4 separate regions of the Homo sapiens genome follow, and regions 1, 2 and 3 are each linked to region 4. Evidence: promoter capture Hi-C in 16 types of primary human blood cells and fetal thymus (Javierre and others, 2016). All regions are on one chromosome and are shown on one strand. Each heading gives the region's core, a stretch centred on a gene start or on the middle of the fragment in contact. The rest is flanking DNA. Distances are from core to core; before and after follow the strand shown.

The links. Contacts are between HindIII fragments. The CHiCAGO score rates a contact against its expected background, and 5 or more counts as called.
Region 1: a fragment that was not itself captured here is called in contact with the fragment with the promoter of ASNSD1 in region 4 in 1 of 17 cell types (neutrophils); the score reaches 5.2 in neutrophils.
Region 2: a fragment that was not itself captured here is called in contact with the fragment with the promoter of ASNSD1 in region 4 in 1 of 17 cell types (non-activated CD4 T cells); the score reaches 5.2 in non-activated CD4 T cells.
Region 3: a fragment that was not itself captured here is called in contact with the fragment with the promoter of ASNSD1 in region 4 in 1 of 17 cell types (neutrophils); the score reaches 5.4 in neutrophils.

Annotation. Positions count from the first base shown.
Region 1 is chr2:190,967,905-190,970,894 of GRCh38, forward strand. STAT1 (signal transducer and activator of transcription 1) reads right to left here. Exons shown (of 25, transcript NM_007315.4): 25 at 1,245-2,813. The coding sequence ends at 2,799. Among named protein-coding and RNA genes, the nearest start is that of STAT1, 45 kb to the right of the region's middle. The HindIII fragment of the contact is 2,672 bases long and covers 405-2,990 here.
Region 2 is chr2:190,877,268-190,880,266 of GRCh38, forward strand. It overlaps LOC124906110 (a long non-coding RNA gene), which reads right to left. Exons shown (of 2, transcript XR_007087791.1): 2 at 1-2,999. Among named protein-coding and RNA genes, the nearest start is that of GLS, 2.1 kb to the right of the region's middle. RefSeq lists an enhancer at 2,942-2,999. The HindIII fragment of the contact is 2,674 bases long and covers 370-2,999 here.
Region 3 is chr2:190,676,305-190,679,290 of GRCh38, forward strand. All of the region lies in intron 6 of NAB1 (NGFI-A binding protein 1), which reads left to right. Among named protein-coding and RNA genes, the nearest start is that of NAB1, 29 kb to the left of the region's middle. RefSeq lists an enhancer at 2,434-2,483. The HindIII fragment of the contact is 2,016 bases long and covers 423-2,438 here.
Region 4 is chr2:189,660,029-189,662,952 of GRCh38, forward strand. It overlaps ASNSD1 (asparagine synthetase domain containing 1), which reads left to right and starts at 1,431. Exons shown (of 6, transcript NM_019048.4): 1 at 1,431-1,582. ASDURF (ASNSD1 upstream open reading frame) reads left to right here and starts at 1,431. Exons shown (of 4, transcript NM_001353493.2): 1 at 1,431-1,582. The coding sequence starts at 1,493. RefSeq lists an enhancer at 1,489-1,678. The HindIII fragment of the contact is 6,437 bases long and covers 1-2,924 here.

The DNA.
Region 1 (2,990 bases), core at 491-2,990, 1.3 Mb after region 4:
AGAAGAGTTTTCAAAACACTTTCTAGCTTTTTCCTGTCCTTTCCCTGGGTTAGTCAGTGACAGGACTGCTCTGTTCAGAAAGACTTGCCTTCATATTCCACTTTAGCTTTCAGGCAATAAATAGATTTCACTCATTTCATGCCATCTCAGAAAACCCTCTTTCCTTTAAAATGAGACATTTGTCCCCAGTAGCACACATAAGCTCTATGCTTATAAAACACTTTTCAAACTTAGAAACACCACACGAGAAATACTCAAACACAAACAAATATCCCTTAAGTTAGGATCTACTCAGTGACTTCTTATAATGGTTAATTATGTAGAATACAAACTTACACTAGTTAGCCAGGGCATATTTACTTTACTCCTTGGAGAGAGACCACTCTCAGTGTTCACTATAAATAAGCTTTATATTTCCTAGATGTAAATACGAAGATATGGAGATGAGAATAATCATTCTGGTTATGATGCCAACATTCATTATCAGGGAATAACACTATTCCATGATAATAGCTAAATACAACTTGACAGACTATGCCTAACTTGGTAATTATGCCTCTTACCCTTTTTTCCCCAATACACAGTGTATTTTACTTTGAGAAGACCTGGCCTTCTAGCTTTTGACATCTTTGGAAAAAAATGGCAGCTTTTTTGTGGGTGCAATAACTTCTCAGTAATAACTCATCTAATCGTGGGGGTGTAGATTTTAGATGACTGCTTTGGAGACAAGACAAAGTCCCATTTCTCATGTATTTTAAAATTAAAAACTGCTAATTTGGGGGTATTAGCAATACCCAGATTCATTTTAAAATAAGTGCTGAATCATCTGTATATTTGGGGACAGCTGTGGTCGCAAAGAACCAAAATACTTTTGTTTGTTTGCTTTTTATGGCACCTATTACAGCTGTTGCCAATAATATTACTCCTCTGACCTCTTCCATTGACATGTCTTAATCTGCCATAGCAATTCTGAATATGTGTAGGGCAGGTAAGGACAACATTTAGGAAAATAGTGTTATTGATCTTATTTTAAAATAAGGATTGAGGTACATGAGAAAAGCATCAAACCAATTCATAACGTCAGTAATTTTAAGAATCTTTATATTAAATACTATTAATGAGAGATTAATAGAATTTTAGAATTTTAATACTTCTTAAAAGTAAAGTCTCTTGGCTAGTGCAGTAAAATGAAACCATGCCGAATTCCCAAAGGGCAAAAAGAACTGACAGCTAAACCTCAGCAATTAGAAACAATATTGTTTTAATGTTGTCTTCTTTGTTTTTTAGTCATTTCAATTGTAAAATCAACTGAAACTTAGGTTCTCGCCATCTATATAAAAACTGAGAGAGGAGGCCTCAGATTGTATGCAGTGCCACGGAAAGCACTGTGTGCATATTATATTTAATGCAATACAGATACTTTAGCTTTAATTTTAAAACAAAACTCAAGAAATCTTTATCTCCACCAAAGAAGAATACAGCATTTGCATGATAATATAGTTGTGGTAGCAGTAGTGGAAAAACAAGATACAGCCACATAGACAGCAGTATGTAAAAGGGAAGAACCTTGTCAAACCCATCTCTTAATCTACTTTTTGTGTCAGTGATAAGGAAGGAAAAAGGTAAAAATACAGTATACTTCACGAAACATCATCCACTCAAAAAAGTGTCTGGAAAAAGTACAGGAGAGAGAATGGAACCATTCGCAAATGTGAAAAACACATATATCAGCGAAACATATGCAGTTCTCAATGCAGTTACATAGGAAATGAGTTTTGAAATGATCTGATTCTCATATTATCTCTGGTGTATTATTCAAGTTGTCAGTTACTGCTTTTTCTACTCCTTTCCCAATTTTGTGGCTAATAGACTAAATACCACCCTAATAACAAAAAGGACAAAGTAGCCCATTTAAGAAACATGAATTAAATTTCTGAGTTTATCTACATCTATGGTTAATTTCAACTTTTGAATGAGTGGTTGTGAATAGCCTAACTCCCTTGGGAGAACTGTAAAAATAATTGTATGTGACCAAGATGAAAGCAGAATGTATTCAGCTTTGGATATCAAACACAACTTGTGAATTTGGAAATGTACATCCTTCTATTGATATTAGCTAGTGTCATTAAGCCATAACAAACAGTAAAGCTAATATTCTCTTCTCAAGAAACAGAATTTGTCTTTGTCTTTAAATAGCCAATGTGAAAGATGTAATAAAATACACATTTTCCCCCTACCAGATCCATGATGGCTACCTTTGAAAGAGGACTGATATAATTGTATATAAACTTGGCTTTGAACTATTTCACAGGTAAACCAATGGAAAACTGCCAGTTACACTTAAAGCAAAGAAAACATGTAAGAATTCTCCCACAGAAATTTACCGTTCCTACGTCAAGCAGTTCCCTAAATAACCACTGATTTATCCAACAACCTATAACAGTTGGGCACTGACTTTATGCATAACATTTGCTAGATGTTGCTTAACTTCTCCTTTCCCAAAGGACCCTCATTCTCGTCCTGATACTTTGGGTGTATCTGGATGTTTTTCACTTGTGAAACCCACTCTTCAGAGAATGCCTTTCAATTTTACCTTCAGTAAGATGCATGATGCCCTTCAGAGTAACTGATGTTTCTGAGTTAGAGAAAAATTCACTTGCTATCAACAGGTTGCAGCGAATTTGCTGGCCTTTCTTTCATTTCCCTAGAAACACAGGATGTGAAGGAACAGAGTAGCAGGAGGGAATCACAGATGAGAAGGAAAACTGTCGCCAGAGAAGATGAAAAAAATTCATGCTCTATACTGTGTTCATCTGTAAAAAGACAAAATGTGGTTAAGTTTATTACACTGATCTTGTGAAATGCAGACTCATACATTAAACATTGCTTGTCTATTCTAGAATGAAGTAGTAGGAAGATACTTGCAATGGCAAATAAATACCGTGGAATAAGAGGGCCTTCAGCATGTACTATGTATTATCCTGGGCTAA
Region 2 (2,999 bases), core at 457-2,956, 1.2 Mb after region 4:
TCAAGCAATTCTCCTGCCTCAGCCTCCCGAGTAGCTGGGATTACAGGCATGCACCACCATGCCTGGCTAATTTTTTGAATTTCTAGTAGAGATGGGGTTTCACCATGTTGGCCAGGCTGGTCTTGAACTCCTGACCTCAGGTGATCCACCTGCTTCGGCCTCCCAAAGTGCTGGGATTACAGGCGTGAGCCACCTTGCCTGGCCATATTATCCCCTTTTTATAGATGAGGGATTTACCATACTTACTTTGGTACACATCTATATTCAGTATTGGAAAAATAAGCCATGTTTGGCAGGGCTTATCAGTGAGGCTAGGAATTTGGCCAGTTAAAGCAGGAAACCAACAGAAGAAAGGGAAGTAGTAGCAGAAGCTTGTTTAGAGGCTTCCTGAACCTTACTCTATTCTCCAAACAGAAGAATTTCAAAAAAAGGCTTAGGCAATTCTTTTAAGCTGTTAGTCAAAGGAAAATTACTTTCTTTTTAGTTCTAGGTCAACAAATAATCTACTAGTTTTTGTGAAGGCGCAATCTGGAATTTCTATATATATATATTATTTTATCTTATTTTATTTTATTTTTTGAGATGTAGTATCGCTCTGTTGCCAGGCTGGAGTGCAGTGGTGCGATCTTGGCTCACTGTAACCTCGGCCTCCCAGGTTTGAGTGATTCTCCTGCCTCAGCCTCCCAAGTAGCTGGGATTACAGGTGTGTGCCACCACGCCCAGCTAATCGTTGTATTTTTAGTAGAGATGGGGTTTAACCGTGTTAGCCAGGATGGTCTCAATCTCCTGACCTTGTGATCTGCTCGCCTCAGCCTCCCAAAGTGCTGGGATTACAGGTGTGAGTCCACCGCGCCCGGCCTATATATGGATTTTATTATGATCTTGAAACATTAGCCTTTTGTAATCTTCGACAGAACAAAGAAGCTCAGGAACATAGAAGCACAGGAACCTTTCTTCAAGTTAGAACAGACACAAAGTGCACAAATTCCAATTATTCCTTTTGATGGCTGATTACCTGATGATGGCTATGGGACAGCAACTCTTTGTAGTGTAGCTGCACTTAGGAGCAAAAAGGAAGTCGAAGAGTAGATCTGACAACCCAACCATAGTTAATGTGGAGAGCATTTTTCTATTTGTAGATATTTTGGTGGACTACTTATTGTATGTATACAAATGTTTTTATACTTTTTACATGATGATTACATGAGTTTATGTAATGATATAATTCAATTTAACATAACTGAAACTTCAAAGTTGTGTAATGGTTACAAAGTTGTAGATAAAAATATCTTTAAAGATTAAAAAATTATATAAGATGAAGAAAAGAATCAAATGAAAGTATTGAGTCACATTTTTATTCTATTTATAATAGTTTCTTTGCTGTCTATAACCTTTTCATTAGCCTTCTCAAACAAGGGGTTAAATTTCAGTGGACTCAATTCTTCCAAATTTTGGGAGTAATATCTATCCATTCTCACCAAAAGCAGAAAGTCTGGAAACTACCAGAAAATAAAACTCTAGAAACTAGAAACTCTAGAAAATAATCTGTTACTAGGTTAGCTTTCTTATTTGTTAAGTGAACTATAAAGCCTTTAAACCTTTAAATATCTAAAACAATTTTCATAAGAAACTCAGAGAAATTAAGGGAGAAACTGAGAGGAAAACAGTAACTGGATTGTCAGTTGCTTTGTGTTGTTGAGAAAAAAGAGGCAGTTAAAATTGATAACTAATTGCAGCTAATATATTGGACAATATTAAAGTCTGCAAGTCATTAACAAGTCAGGGTTAGGCAGGGGTAATATTTGTTACCTTTCCTCTGAAACTTGATGTCTCTATTCCTGAATATATCATTACTTTGATTCATCAACATTTTTGGACAAGTAACATTAGTAATAAAAGCTATCTAAGTACTTTCCCATTGTCCTGCTTTTTTTTTTTTAAATAAAAAAGGTGACTATGTTTTACACATGATAGTTTTTTCCATGTTCTTCTGGTTAAAGAGCAGATAGAAAAAAAAAACTTAAAACACGGCAAGGCTGTAACATGCCAAAGGTCACATAACCTGTAGGTACAGCCAGATTTCCTAATTATTAATCTATTGAAATATTTTACAGTTCACTAGATTACTAAATCCGGTTATCAATTAATGATGCACCTGACATACACCCTTCTAGTTTCATAAAAATCACCTCATTAGGCCGGGCGTGGTGGCTCACGCCTGTAATCCCAGCAATTTGGGAGGCCCAGGGGGTGCAGATCCCTCGAAACCAGCCTGGGCAACCTGGCGAAACCCCGTCTCTACCAAAAATACAAAAAAAAAAAAAAAAAAAAGCAGGTGCTGGCTGAGGTGGGAGGATCACCGGGGCCCCTGAGTTCAAGGCTGCAGTAAGCCGTGATCGCGCCACTGCACTTCAGCCTGGGCGACAGAGTGAGACCCTTTCTCAAAACGAACACACACAACAACACAGTAACAACACACCAACCCCCAAAACATCTTATTAAACTCTGTGGATCTACTCCATTTAAACCTAATTGTTTCAGGAAATAGTCTAAAAACATTTTTTTGTCCTGGAATGTAATGTGTATGTAGCCTCAGGGAATAACTCAGTTTATCAGGTTCTTGGCTGTTTTTCCACAGGTCCAAAAGGATAAATGGATAAAGTGATGCTGAAATAACTTAGAGAACCCGTATTCCAACGCTTCTATTTTAAAACAGTGAAGCAGTTTTTAAAATAGAAAAGTATCTACAGTTTTGCTTTCAAGCAAATAGCGTTAACGGAATCATTGCTATTCAAAACTATTTTTGAAGTATCGGTGTACATTTAAAAAAAATAATTTTTAAAAAAGAAAGCTGTCGTATTCTGGATTCCGCAACCCCCCCACCCCGCCTCGCCACTCGTCGCCCTCCCTCCACCTCCACCCTCCCATGGCTTAAGTCGCATAGCTGAAAGGATTTTGCTCATTTTTTCCAAAACACTTCACGTCTGGGTAGTAGCCAA
Region 3 (2,986 bases), core at 181-2,680, 1.0 Mb after region 4:
ATGTGATTGACACAAAGGACCTCATAAATAAAACTAGAAAGAATTTAGAATTCTTTTAACATACTTTTTCTCTTATTTCATTTGAGTCTTTCTCTTGTGATTCTCAGCTTGTTATTTTCTATTTAAAGAAAGTAATATACAAGACTGAGCATGGTGGCTTATGACTGTAATCCCAGCACTTTGTGAGGCTGAGGCAGATGGATTGCTTGAGTCCAGGAGTTTGAGACCAGCCTGGGCAACATGGCAAAACCCCATCCTTACAAAAATTAGCCAGGCATGATGGCATGTGCCTGTAGTCCCAGCTAATCAGGAGGCTGAGGTGGGAGAATCACTGCCCCACTGCACTCCAGCCCGGGCAACAGAGCACAACCTTGTCTCAAACAAAGGAAAAAAAGTTTTTAAGTAACGTACAAATAAACTTAAGCTTAGCCCATTTTATAGTGTAACAGATTTCTAATTACAAGGCCCAAACTAATGAGACAAGTTTTTCTCTTTTTTCAAATCTTTAAGTGTTCTAAAATCCTTTATAACAATAAGCATATGTGCCACATTGCTGGCTTTTTCCATCTTAAAAACATAATTTTTACAGGGAACAAAAAGAAATGTAATGTTGAGCAGATAAAATAAAATAACATCAAAATAATTTGACATGTAAAGGAAAGAGAAACATTTTTTTGCTTGTCATTATTAATGCATTAGGGTACACTAATACAAGTAGTGCTGTGTTCAAGCTCAGTAAGATCTTTCGTTCCTAAATACTGTGTTTTCCTGATCTATACATGAAGGCTTGGGTGGAATGAAGTTATAATTCATTGACTTGTCTGATTTTTCTACCTGGAAAGCTCTTATTTATGTAGTAGGTTGTTCCCCCTTAAAGGATAGTTACTTATTTGATTTAAAAAAAAAATAGCAGTATACACATTGCATAGAAGTAATCAAGATAATCTGTTGTCCTTAAATAGTGTTCCTCCTTACAGGGTATGTTAAACATTAAAAAACAGATTTTGAACTTTAATTCCTAGAATATATGAGATGGACATGGAGAAAAAGATCGCCTGCTAGCTTAGGTGTGCCTTAAGGAACCTACCATTTGGAATGAAATCTCTAGGGAAACGTTTCTTCAGCTAGTTAGTAAGTGAGGTTGGAATCCTTCTGCTTAGACGGAATGAATAACATGTCCACTGGAACACAGCCCTCTGTGAGTCCACTTTCAGCTGAAATGAAAATAGATTTTGTTTATTCTTACTTATCTTTTGAATTAGATCTAATTAAATCTTCTCATTCTGGGGCAATTGTAAAAATCGCTACTTTGTATTGCTTTTATTTTGTGTCAGTCCCTACTAGACATTTGGAATTCATTATCACAAACATTCTTGTCTAACCTATGTGGAGGCTTTATGATTTCCATTTTACAGCCAAGGAGAGACCCAGACAGGCTCAGTATCTTCACCTGTGTTGCCAAACTGCTATCCAGTAGCAGAGCCGGGGCTTCCTATCTATGTCTGATTCCTGAATGTCAAAGCAGTACCACCTTCCTAGGTGCTAATGATTATTCACAAAGCATCTTACCTGTGAAAAAAACACTATTGGGGTTATACCTTTCCTCCTAGTACCGTGTGAAGGGCGAAATGTGTGCAGGACTGGTAGTCTTTGAAAAGGGTGGATGGTGGCAGTTATTATTTTCTAATCCAAGAAATGTTATGTAGTAAACAGTTACAAGTTTTGAGTAGAAAATTTAACAATGTAAATTACAAAATATTTAAATATAAGAAATTTTCATTTGATATGCTGATTGTTTATGAGTAAAAACCTTGTGTTGGGAAGATACACAGAGTAAATCAGAAAAATTAGTTTGATTTCCTTATGTCCTACCTATGAAAGAACATATTTAAGGTGGCTTGACAGCTCATTCAAGGGGATGAAAAATCAAGAGCCAAAGTCCCTGGCTCTCTTGTCTTCTCCTAAATTTTTTTAAATGTTAGTTAAAAGTGAATTCAATTGGTAACCTTTCTTTTTCATTAAGAACACATTCAGTTCCATGAACAAATTTGTTATTAACTCCAATGTTATAAGTAACATCTTAGAAGGGAGGAAGGATATATAAAGCTACAGTCTCAGACCTGGTGATGGCAGCTGACTAACTGGACTGAGTGCTATTTCTCATTTGAGTTTTCTTCATTCGCTGAAATTGCTGGAGACTGGGCAGAGATGGGAAATGACAGCATTCTTGACCCTGTGGGAGTCAGAGGTGCAAAGCATTCAGAGATAAGTGGATGAAAGAAATGAGGTTTGTTAATAGAGCCCAGGAAGTCAGAGAACTGGGGCTTGAAGAAGAAAGACCTAAAGGAAACATCTGCTAGCAGTTCCAGCAAGGTGGGGGTGGGAGAGCAAGGAAGGGGGAGGAAAGAGGTTCAGAATATCCACCTACGCTGCTACTAAGCTTGTTGAAAAGAAAGCTGGTCTAATTTGACGTAGACTCTTCCCCTCTGGATCAGAAAAAACAGAAGCATTACAATATGCTATTCATACAGAAAGTGTGATTAGAAAAAAGGAAAATGCACATGTGGGGTTGAGAACATCTGCTGTAACAAGTCATCTAGAGACAGCTAAGCAGTGGCTTTAAAGCAGCTTGCTAGTGTTCGGCAGAAAGGATGAGGAGGCATGGGGATGGAGACCAATGGGATGAGAGTAATTAGGTCATGCACCAGCCTCCGTCCCATAGCTTTTATTTTCTCAGTGATCAGACCCAGAGTCTCGTCAGCAAGGAAACACTGTGATTAATGGCATCAGCCAAAAATATGACATGGAGATAGATTGCTCATAGTATGGTGCAGCTAGCTGGTGCCTGGGAAACAAGCTTACGAGACATAACGAAATTGTGCACCACACATAATGTGAAAGAGACCAGTTTCTTGGGAATGTTCTTACTTTTATTTCTAAGTCATATATTTTGGGGACCTTAAATCTACTTTATGTGACATGCAGT
Region 4 (2,924 bases), core at 181-2,680:
AGCTCACAAACAATAAACAAAAAGACTTACAAACTCGCTTCTCTGTCACCTCTCTTATTTATTTATTTGAACCCCTGGCCTCAAGTAATCCTCCCACCTCAGCCCCGAGTGGTTGCGATTACAGGTTTGAGCCACTGCACCTATCTACCTCTCTACCAATGAGACTAGACGTCCATCATCCAACAGATACCACCAAATGGTTAGACCACAAAACCAAACTCCCAATCATTGCTGCTATCAATGTATCAGTAATGTATAAGTTATACCTGAATAACTTATCAGGAATGTACAAATCAGAAATGAAAACACAATCTTTAAAAATCAATTATAAAGGAAAAATATATAACCACTTGGGTTTTCTGTAAGAGCAAATAAAAAACATGCCTGGCCTTAAACAACCCATGATGTATACATTTCTTTCGCCAGATAGTTTGATTCATCACATAAATCCAGTTGGGCATCTCTGTGGAAACTTAAGATTTCCAATAATATAGTATAATTATCAAAAACCTAAAATCATGTCTCTAATGTGAACATAAAATATATACATGTCAAACTTTTATTCAACTCATTGGTTAGTGAGGGAACCGATGACTTTAAAACCAATACAGAATATTAGAGAAGCTAGGCATATGTTAATAAAGAAATGTTAGGACAGAATGCAGGGTTAGATACAAAACTGACTAATGTGTTGCAGAACAATAAATCATAACCTGTGTTGGTATCTGGTACAACAAAAAATTATTTGCATCTCTACCAAACCAAAATCTCTACCAAAGTTAACCTTTGCCCCTACAGAATTGTAAAACAGCCCAGTCAATATAATAAAGTCAAGTCCAGAGCAGCACTGAAAGAGCATCCAGTAAATAAATCTCTTTTGCCTATTTCCAAGTTTTAGTCATTTTTTCCACAGAAATGAGATATTGCAAATATTGCACGGGACATAGATGCACTAAAAAACTATTAATTCATCTGAAGTTCATACTGTATTTTATCCGGCAACCCTAACCACGAGTTAACCAAAACTTTACCAAGTCTGTACAGTTCTTTTGCCAACACGGTATCTCTTAAATCTGTTCCTTAGCTTCATCTTTCCCTAGATAATAAATATCATATTAAGCGCTGTTTCTATTGCACGACTATTCTTCATATTTACCACTGGAGGGCGCACAGAACTCGTAGTATACTAGATAAGAGGTCATGAAGAAACCACCTGAGCGTTTCTGCATCTCAACCACAAGAGGCCAGTACAGGAACCTCAGATTTTGCAACCAGACTGTTTACTCGCTCCCTAAGCAGCCATGCGCAGGCGCGAAACTCCTCCCCAGGCCAGACCCGGCCTGCGCATGCGTTCAAGTGAGCGCGCAGACGCTATTGGTAAGACTCGCGGGAAAAGAAAGGGTGAGCGCGGCTGGAAGCGCGCATGCGCTGTGGCTAATGCCGTAGGCTCCTTCAGGGCTGAGCCATCCCGCGTGTCTTGCGCTCGGTGGAAATGCCCAGCCGAGGGACGCGACCAGAGGACAGCTCTGTGCTGATCCCCACCGACAATTCGACCCCACACAAGGAGGATCTAAGCAGCAAGGTGAGTGTGAGACGCGACGAAAAGGCTCCTGGACTCGGGACCGGGCGCCACTGGACCCTGAAGGTGGTCCGCAGCGGGCAGCGTGGGGCCTGCCTGGGCCTCGGCTTTGCCCTGCTACTTTGCTCTTTTTATTCATAGCACTTGACAGCCACAGTTAGTCCTTTTATTTTCTGAAAACAGTTGCGAAAAGGGAGATCTTGAAATTTGTCCCGAGACTGGACCCAGGTGACAGTGGGGCGGAGTTTTGGTTGGGTGTTTTCCTCCCTAGTCTTTTTAAACTTTTGGAAATACCGCCCACCCCAAATCTGTTCCATCAAAGATATTCTCCATCCAGTTAACCATGCCAGCAACCCGGGGTCCATCCTTGACCCCCATCATGGAAGCCTATCAGTTCTACCTTTGAAGCTCATTTCAAATATGTCCCTTTATCACCGTGAACACTCTTACCACCCCAAATAAGCCACCGTCATCTGCTATCGGGACCCCTGCCCCCGGCAAGGCCTTCCTAAGCGGTCTCTCCTCATCCACCTGTTAGCTGCTGCTTCTCCGTTAACCAGAGCAATGGTCCTAAAACACGCATTGGGTTGTCACTCATACCAAACTGGGGGAGAGAGGAAGCCAATATAATATAAGCCTTAACTGCCATAAACAAACAACCTTTAAAGATAAATGGGGGTGGCGAGGGTTATAGCCCTTCAGGTATTACATGTCCTAGATTCTACTTTGGTTCTGTCCCAAACTTACAATGACATCTTGGGCAAGTCTCTTTAATCTTTCTGTATCAGTTACCTTCTTTGAAGTAAAGTGAAATGTACACCTGTCATTCCTAAAATGGGAAAGCCCTGTATAAATGTTAAGTCTCAAAGAATGTTTACAAATTTGGCCTTGGAATTCAACCTCATTACTACAGCTCTGCCAACGGGGGAGACAGAAAGGTGCACATTCATGGGGATTGGGGGTGAATTTTCAAAAGACACACAGCCCATTCTGATTACCACCATAGCAAGCCACTTACGCATACTGGTGGTTACAGATCCCTGAGGTGTGTGTGAGGTAGCACAAATATGATAAAAGCTGCTTTTAGAGGCTCTTGTGATACTATGTAATCAGTCATGTTCACAAAATAAATAGAGTTAAAAAGAAACTTAGTTTTCACTTAGTTGAGCCCTCCCCTACAAATAAATGAAGCCCAGGCCAGCATGGTGGCCCAGGCCTGTAGTCCCAGCTACTCGGAGGCTAAGGTGTGAGAATCGCCTGAGCCCGGGAAGATCAAAGCTGCAGTGAGCCGTGATCGCACCACTGCACTCCAGCCTGGGTAACAGAGCAAGACCCTGTTTCAAAA